2 separate regions of the Homo sapiens genome follow, and region 2 is linked to region 1. The links are contacts of gene promoters, found by promoter capture Hi-C in blood cells and fetal thymus (Javierre and others, 2016). All regions are on one chromosome and are shown on one strand. The core of a region is centred on a gene start or on the middle of the fragment in contact, and the rest is flanking DNA. Distances in the headings are between cores, read along the strand shown.

What was found. The method cuts DNA at HindIII sites, captures the fragments that hold promoters and counts their contacts. A CHiCAGO score of 5 or more calls a contact.
Region 2: a contact is called between the fragment with the promoter of TTC14 here and the fragment with the promoter of LRRC58 in region 1, in 1 of 17 cell types (total B cells). The highest score is 11.5, in total B cells.

What each region holds. Positions count from the first base shown.
Region 1 is chr3:120,347,478-120,351,908 of GRCh38, reverse strand. LRRC58 (leucine rich repeat containing 58) reads left to right here and starts at 2,555. Exons shown (of 4, transcript NM_001099678.2): 1 at 2,555-3,165. The coding sequence starts at 2,666. It also overlaps the pseudogene BTNL12P. RefSeq lists a silencer at 2,560-2,889 and an enhancer at 3,240-3,289. The HindIII fragment of the contact is 1,696 bases long and covers 1,577-3,272 here.
Region 2 is chr3:180,600,274-180,604,704 of GRCh38, reverse strand. It overlaps TTC14 (tetratricopeptide repeat domain 14), which reads right to left and starts at 2,542. Exons shown (of 12, transcript NM_133462.4): 1 at 2,283-2,542; 2 at 1,690-1,814; 3 at 1,382-1,581; 4 at 396-480; 5 at 98-227. The coding sequence starts at 2,443. TTC14-DT (TTC14 divergent transcript) reads left to right here and starts at 2,592. Exons shown (of 3, transcript NR_183700.1): 1 at 2,592-2,802. RefSeq lists an enhancer at 2,462-2,751. The HindIII fragment of the contact is 2,365 bases long and covers 522-2,886 here.

The DNA.
Region 1 (4,431 bases), core at 1,306-3,805:
TGTGATAGCAGACTTTACTCATCATTTTTGAGCTTGAGTTCCCTCATTTCTAAAATGCGGATAAACATTCTTATTTATAAATGTGGCGATAAGTAGAATTACATTTTTTAAGGTTTGTGATAAAAGGTGTTTGATAAATAAAAATTCCTTTTCAACTAAAACTTAATATTTACAAATATATTCAGTGTTTCAAAAGATATAGAGTACCTGTACCTACTGTGGAGCAGGCACTGTTAGGGGATGGGTATATAATAATAAGACAGTTCTTTTCAAGGACTTTACAATTTACTCTAATTATTCAAAAAATAAGTCCACTAACTAAGAGATATATCCAACTCAGTCAATCCAAATTATTTGCAAGAAATCATACTAGGCAATGGGGGATGGTGGTGGTGTGAGGGAGAATCCAAAAATGAATAAAGATAGTCATTCTATGTAAGTAGGAACCTACTCTAATTGGACATGAGATGTGCATTTTACACTGAAATTTACAGTTTCCTTGCCAATAGCTTCAATGAGGCAGAAACACAGTTTTCAACTTTTAGAAAGCAGTTTCTCAGTTATCTTAGCTGCTCAATGGTCTGGTTACATTTATCCTAAATTCAACAACCAAATAGTTGGAGACTTTATTAAATTAAAAGCTCCTAGTACAGCGTTGCAAGCAGTAGGTTTTCAAAATTTGTCAGGTTACTCATTTCTTTACCTACACCACTTTTTTTCTACTTCCTTTCCTTTATTCTATATAATGTGGAGTTCCCATACTAAGTATTTTTTTCCAAACTTTCTACTAGGAAGCCTCATTTGCTATTATTGAGGTTATCTTTTTCCCTTTAATTCCACTGATTTGTAATCTTACCTCTTATTTTATTTTTCTTGAGACAAAAAAAAAAAAAAGTGCAGGGCAGTGGCACAATCATGGCTCTCTGCAACCTCTACCTCTTAGGCTGAAACAATCCTCCCAGCAGCCTGTGTAGTAGTTGGCACCACAGGCGAGCGCCACTAGGCCCGGCTAATTTTTGTATTTTTTGTAGAGACGGGGTTTCCCCATGTTGGCCAGGCTGGTCTGGAACTCCTGACCTCAGCGATCTGCTGGCCTGGGCCAAAGCACTGGGATTACAGGCATGAGCCATGGCACCTGGCCAACTCTTATTTCTGAATTATGTTTGAATCCTTTCTTTTTCTCATTTTACATTACGTTCCTATCACTTTTTAAAATCCAAGATAAATATTTTAAAGCAAAAACAACTATTATTTTAAATATTTGTTATTTTCAGATATTAGGACTACTGTTAGAATGCTGGCTTGACCCAAAATAAGGTCTGTTCTTAAAAGGACTCTTTCAAAACAGATGACTCATCAGTTTTAAAAAGCATTCCACCATTAGCTTAAACATACAAAGTACGTCCTTCTAGGACTACCACTCAATCAGAAATTAAAGTTTGACTGCAGAGTAAAGGCATAGTTTCTCATACAAATAAATGACTGGCAAGAAAAAAACGACTTTCCTTTTTTAAGGAGGAAAGCAATTTAATGTCGTTGATTATACACGACCACTTAACTTTCTTATGTATAAGCTTTGTTAAAAAAAAAAAAAGCTAAGCATTTTTTCTCATTTCTATTCATTACTTTTCAAAATCATAAAATGTAATTTCAGAAAAGATTGAGTTTGGGACAAGGATGAAAAATACGTTAATTAGAATTACTAAATTAGTACCAGATCAGGATTTTCCCAAACTGTAGTTTTGACCTGCAGTACAAACTCTATGCTTTGAGTTTTTAAACTAACTCATTAATTTGAGCTATCTCAAATCATGCAACCGCCTCCATATCTCCCAAATTCACTCCTAGACACAACTTACACCAAAAGCCACGTATGTGCTTCTACAATTAAAACGGGCAAAACGTCCTTACTTGATACACATTTCTGCCTTAAAAAAGAAAAAAATAATTCTGTGGGGCAAGTAGTGCGGGTGTTACCCATATTTTATGCATGGGGCAACTGAAATCAAATCCCTGCCCTAGGCTATTTAACAGCGGAACCTCCAGTAAGGGTCCGGGGGTTCTGAGGTCTAGTCCAGCTGCGTTCACATTTCGAGGTCGGCTTTGTTAATCCTCGGACTTTAAATTCCTGCGGTTTTCTGTCATGGAGCTAAATCACCACTAAATTACTGTGTGCTCACAGAGTCCTGCAGACACGGGCCCCACTTTTAAACTGAAAAACAAGCGGGGGACGGGGGGGGCACGTGACGCGCGAACCCTCAAGGCGAGATAACCGAACATCCTTGGGCTGTTTGCCGAGGCAGTCTTGTAGCCCTGGAATAGGTCACCAGGCTCCAGCGACTATAAAGCGCGGCCGCCGAAACCCGGTCCGGCTCAGATGACAATTTGGCAGCCTCTGGGTGTCTGCCTCAGTTCTGCGCAGCCCATGCTGCGCTCTTGCCACTCCGCGCCCCGCGCCTCGTGAGGCAGAGCCCGCCCCGGAGCGGCGCGCGCACCCCAGGACTCGCGTCGCGTGACTCGGCCAAGGCGCGCAGGGTTTGCGCCCGCCCGCGCCACTTCCGACTCAGCCCTCGGTTCAGGTTCCGGGGCGCCGCAGAGCTCCCGGCCTCTGGACCGCGCGCGGCGCTCTGGGGAATCCGGCGCCACGCGCCGTGCGGTGGCCAGGATGGAGGAGGCCGGAGCAGCGGTGGTCACGGCCGGGGAGGCCGAACTGAACTGGTCCCGCCTCAGCGTGTCCACCGAGACGCTGGAGTCTGAGCTGGAGGCGCGGGGGGAGGAGCGGCGCGGGGCGCGGGAGGCGCTGCTGCGGCTGCTGCTGCCTCACAACCGTCTGGTGTCGCTGCCACGGGCGCTGGGCAGCGGCTTCCCGCACCTCCAGCTGCTGGACGTGAGCGGCAACGCGTTGACCGCGCTCGGGCCGGAGCTGCTCGCTCTGCGCGGCCTGCGCACGCTGCTGGCCAAGAACAACCGGCTCGGCGGGCCCAGTGCGCTGCCCAAGGGCCTGGCCCAGTCGCCGCTCTGCCGCAGCCTCCAGGTGCTCAACCTCAGCGGCAACTGTTTCCAGGAGGTGCCTGCCTCGCTCTTAGAGCTGCGCGCGCTGCAGACCCTGAGCCTGGGCGGCAACCAACTGCAGAGCATCCCGGCTGAGATCGAGAACTTGCAGAGGTGAGCGGGTGTGTGCCGGAGGGTGGGGAGGCCTCGGGCGGTGTCCGGGAACCCTGGGGCGCCGGGCCTGGGCACCTCAACGTTTGTCACGTAACTATTTCCAAGCTTTCTCTTTAACTGTGCGGTAGTGAGTTCTGCCCAACCATCTCAGCAAGTTGTTGTAAATACCTAGTATGTTCGCATGTGTGACTGTTTGGTGTGTTGTGTTTGGCCTATGCAGATTCTCGAGGCATTTTTTCTGTCTTCCTTATTGAATCTGGGGCGTGATCCAAACTGAGTGGAAACTCAAAACAGATGTAAATCAGAGGTTGTCACTTCTTTGCTCAAAAGTCTTCCGTGGATTTCCATCTCTATAGATCAAAGTACGTGCCTTTGAGCGTGGCGTACAAGGTGCTCTGATCTAACCCTTGCTTTCCACTACATTTGCAGCTTCCTCTTCTCTGTGGCAGTACCAACTACCATTTGTGGAGTTCAGTGACCTATGCATTTTCCCACGTAGAGAAAGCAGCTTGGAGTTGCTGGTAGGCACTCAGTATGTGTTGAATGGATGCAGTGCCTCTGTACACGTGCTGTTTCCCTTGCTTGGAATGTTTCCTTCACCTGGCAAACGCCTATCATCCTTCAAAAGCTATCTCAAGTTAATCATCTCTGTGATTCCTTTTTTACTACTCCCTGCACAACAATTTTTTTCGTTACTACTCCCTGCACAAAAAAGTACAGCCTATGCTGTACTTTCTCTGTGCTTCATTCATCTTGCCTTTGCATTTACCTTATTGGATATGATTCCTTGTTTACAGGAATTATCTGCTTCACCTACTAGATTATGCAGTAAATATGTTAAATTTAACTTTAGGAGGAAGCAGAGAAACAGGATAATAAAAGTGCCCGGTGGGGGAGTGGGAAATAGAGCCAAATGTATTGTACAAAACGAAAAAGAGGTATCTTCCATCTGTAAGATATTTTCACACTTTATTGTATTTTCAGAGATAACAGAACGTTAAAGGTAGAAGGGACCTCAGAGTTAAGTGGAGCAAAAGAATATTGGCCTGGGAAGGCCGGGCGCGGTGGCTCACGCCTGTAATCCCAGCACTTTGGGAGGCCAAGGCAGGTGGATCATGAGGTCAGGAGATCGAGACCATCCTGGCTAACAAGGTGAAACCCCGTCTCTACTAAAAATACAAAAAATTAGCCGGGCGCGGTGGCGGGCGCCTGTAGTCCCAGCTACTCGGGAGGCTGAGGCAGGAGAATGGCGTGAACCCGGGAAGC
Region 2 (4,431 bases), core at 1,293-3,792, about 60 Mb before region 1:
CAAGTCTGAAGTAATTTAACCGTTATAAAAATGTGGTATTCCTCAATCCAAGAGACTTTTGTAATGAACTGTTGTTGAAATAATACGGATAAATTACCTGTAGTATAAAGGAAGCTCTTCAGAGCTAATTACACCTAATTTAATACCAGATAGGTGTGGTGGAAGAGAAGAGCTATACAGAGATACTGCTAGCTTTTCATGGTATCTGTCAATATCCTTGATTCCAGCTTAAGAAAAAAAAAAAGAGAACTAAGCTGATTAGTAAGAAAATGTAAACTAACATAAAAAATATAAACTTTCCCAAACACTACCCTCTTAGACTGTATTTTTTTAAATTAATAAAAACAAAAATTCAACAATCATTACTTTTTTATTAGTATGATGAAACTAATCACCTCGAATGATGTCACCAGTTTGGTAATATGATAAAGGATCCCCATGGTTACTGTGAGAAGGCACATCTCTTAAGGGACAAAGAGCCTGTAATGAGAAGTATTTTAAAACACCAGACATTTCAAGCTTTGATAAGAACAGTGTCTTCTTTTATCTTAGTTGTTTGGTATGAAACAGCTAGTAGTTGAACAACCTAAAGTAAAAATTTAAATAAGGATTTAGTTAAAAGTAATTTCCGTGTCCAAACACAGTAAAATATGTTTGCTGGTTCAGTTAAAAAACTAAAATCTCATGAAACTTTCCATTAGTTTAGGAACCAAATATGATGGCTTATGACAGTATACAACATGCATCAAAAACAAACTAAAATTTGTCTAAAAGGTATAAGGATTCCAGTGAAAATGAAATGCCAATTCTCCAAAGTATTTTGTCTGTTATCCAATCTGTAATACCTTCTGCTTTTCTTCCTTTTTATCTGCCTGGATAGATGGCAAATACCCAATCTTTTATCGTGACACATTAGTTTAAATTCAGGACTATCCATCTTGGGCAAAGTATCTTAATATAATGTACAAACCACTTACATTTAATTATTGTAAATATATAAATGAAACTTCTCTCCAAATTATCCACATGAAAATATACAATGCCAAATATTAACTAATTAAGAATACATATGTTCAACTACAAGAAATAAGTCTGAATATCAATCAACCTCACCACGTCCACTGATACCTCTTTGAGCATTTAGAAAAGAACACTGTGCCTGCCAACCAGTTTAAATTTAAAAAATCCCAAAAACCAGAAATGGAGGGAGAAACTGGGTAACTTACACTAATTTTTTTAAACTATTTTTCTCCAATTAACATTTAATTTCCAAAAGCATCTTGGCAGGTATACTTGAGCACAACTGCATGCAAAGATATAGTTCTTGCATTGAGATGCGTTAACAAAAACAGAAGCAATCCAAGTAACAAAAATAACTTACTGTGATTTCTAAGTGGGCTATATCTCTCATGATACCACTTCCTAAACAGATCAACACCATGAAAAAACCGAATTCCCGAATAGAACTAATTCTTCCAATCACTATATCACCACGCTCAATATCTCGGAAAAACAGCTCTCTCCGATCCATACTAGGTATCTCCATGAATTGCTCTAAAGGTGGCATGATTGCATAATGATCTAAAAAAAAAAAATTAACAAAATCACTAACGATAGTTTTGAGTTCCGTTTCACCTGAAGTACTGTTAAACCGAACCGCAATCTTAAAGATTTTAAGGCTAAACTGACCTTCACTGTCTTCATTAATTTCAGAAGTTGCAGGTGCATCTGATTTCCAGGAAAGTGCAAAAAGCAGATCCGCTTTTTTGGAGATGAATTTCTGTATCTCGATGTTGTCAACTCTCTTCTCTTTTCTTAAAAAGAAAAAAATATATATGAAAATTGGGTTATCTGCAAAGCCTCTTTACTTCTAACCTTCTGCTTATGGCTTTCATCGCCCATTCCGCTCCATCCTAAGCTGCAGACAATACAACCTCAGACAAAAAGTTTTAACTAGGCATTCCCTCATTAACCAACCTGGAGGTGGAGAGCGGGGAAACTTAAAAAGTGACGCCTCCAACTCAGATAGGAAAGCTCAAGGGATTTTTAGCTAAGGAATCTGCGCCTCTACCAAGCAGTGCCAGAGAAAAAGTTCAGCCCGCATCCCGCATTGCACAACCCAGGAGCGCCCCCCGTCCACCCAGCCCAAGACACCAGCGCGCGATCGTCCTGTGCTCACGGCCGCGGCTCCACTTCCTCTAGACGCAAACCCGGGGCTGCGGTAGTGGCTGCCAGAGCTGCGTCCCCTCTTCCGTGGCGCAGTGGCACCAACGTCTCATTACCTGCCCTGCAACGGGTGCTGGGGCGGCGGGCCCCGGGCTGGCTCGGCGGCCGACCCCAGGAGGCTACGGAAGTGTGGATTGTCCTGCTGTTCGCTCCGAAGTAGAGAGAGCAAAGACGACCCGTGGCAATTTAGCGACTGCCGCAAAAGGTCCCGGTCCATGGCTAGAGAATGCAGGGCCCGGAGGCCGACGGGCTGATAGTTCCCTGTTCCGTGTCCGCTACTTGAGCCGGGTGGTACAGGAAGCGGAAGAAACTGTCTGGAGGCTGCCGGAAGTACACAGACAGCACAACCAGTTACACCCGGAAGTGTTCTGGGGTCGCCCCCACGGCGGCGCGGCGGAGCTCAGCCTCGATCTCGCGAAACCGAGCGAGACTACGGAAGGCCGAAGGATTGGGCTCAGCATTGCTTGGGCTAAAGGCTGACTAGGGCTTCCAGGAAGTGATGTATGTGAGAAGTTTGCTTTTTAAAGTGTACGTGGGATCGTTATTACGTCGAAATAGCTCGAGCTGTAACCTAGGGTAAATAATAATTCCTTTTCGTATTCATCAAGGTGCTTCTAAGTGCCAGTGCCAGGGTAAGAACCCTATACGAGTCTCCAAGCTTCTTCCCTCGACGTACTCTCTGCGTAAATCAATACCTGTGTCTCTGGCGTAACCCCATTCAACCGGCTGCTCCGGGAAGGTTTCCAGGTGGTTTTAAGGGCAGAAGAAAGGAAGGACACGGACATTTGTTAAGCACCTGGAGTGGTGTTCTCCATCCATACCCCATTTACTGTTAGTGATTGTGAATTCTAAAACCAGGATGGCTTTAATGTCTCCACACGTGCATATGCCATTCAAGTTTTACAATAACTAATGAACACATGCATTTCTTATTTAGTTTATCTCAATGGTTGCTCAAAATTTAGTGTCTGTGGGACTTACTGTATAGTGGTATGTACGCAAAAGTCAATATACTGTTCTTATGGACAATTCAAGTGATTTTCAAAGGGAATTTCAACTTAGGTCCCCCATCCCCTTACTTACTGACTTGAGAACCTAACCACTATGGTAGCTATTGTACTTTTTCATTTTAGAAAACGAGGAAACATGCTCAGAGAGTCCCAGTAAATTGCTCAATGGCACACAGCTAGTAAGAGGCTAGAGTTAGGATTCCAAACGAAGTATTAATTGGTCTTCTCAGGCAGAGTTGCTGGATTGAGTATTTTATCATATGGAAGGTCTAACTAACCCTAATTTTGAGATCATGTAGCTTCGTTTTATTCCAGTATAAAATTTGTACCATTTAAATATGTTCAGTGTAAATAGTTCAGTATAGTCCTCTTGAACAGAAATAAACGGTGACAGTTAGTCTCTCCACTTCCCACCATGTGTCTTTGAGGAAATCAACTTGCCTTTCACTGTGTTACCACTTTTGTATAGGAGATCTAGCCCAGAACATAATCGATACTGCCACACTGTTTTGTGGAAAACCCAGGCAAATAGGTAAACAGTTTGAGACTTGAGAAAATGCAACAAACAAGAATGCAACTGTAAAAGATAAATTTGGGTTAGGCACGGTGGCTCACACCTGTAATCCCAGTACTTTGGGAGGCCGAGGGTGGATCACTTGAGGTCAGGAGTTCAGAGACCAGCTTGGCCACCATGGCCTAACCCCGTCTCTACTAAAAATACAAAAATTAGCCGAGCGTGGTGGCTCATGCCTGTAGTCCCAGCTACTCGGGAGGCTGAGGCACGAGAATCTCTTGAACTCCGGAGGCGGGGGTTGTAATGAACTGAGATCGCGCCACGGCAGTCCAGCTTGGGCGCCGGAGGGAGACTCCGTCTCAATAAATAAATAAATAAATAAATTTCAAGCTTCTATAGGCATATCAACTTTAATAAATGGTACAGACTGACTTGTTTTAAGCCATAACTCTAGAGAATGGTTGTTTTTAGGAAAGAGTGCTGTCACTGAAAAGGAAAGCTGACCACTAAAAATTATTATAGACATCTTGATAAGTATGTGATTTGTGTTAGAGTCAATCTGTGATCAAGGACCTCATTTTTTGGAGGGACTAAGAAACCGGTGTCTGAGAACCAGACACCAAATAGTGTTACTTAGCCTGGGAATGTCACCTTCTGAGGCCATTCTTCAGTAGCACATGG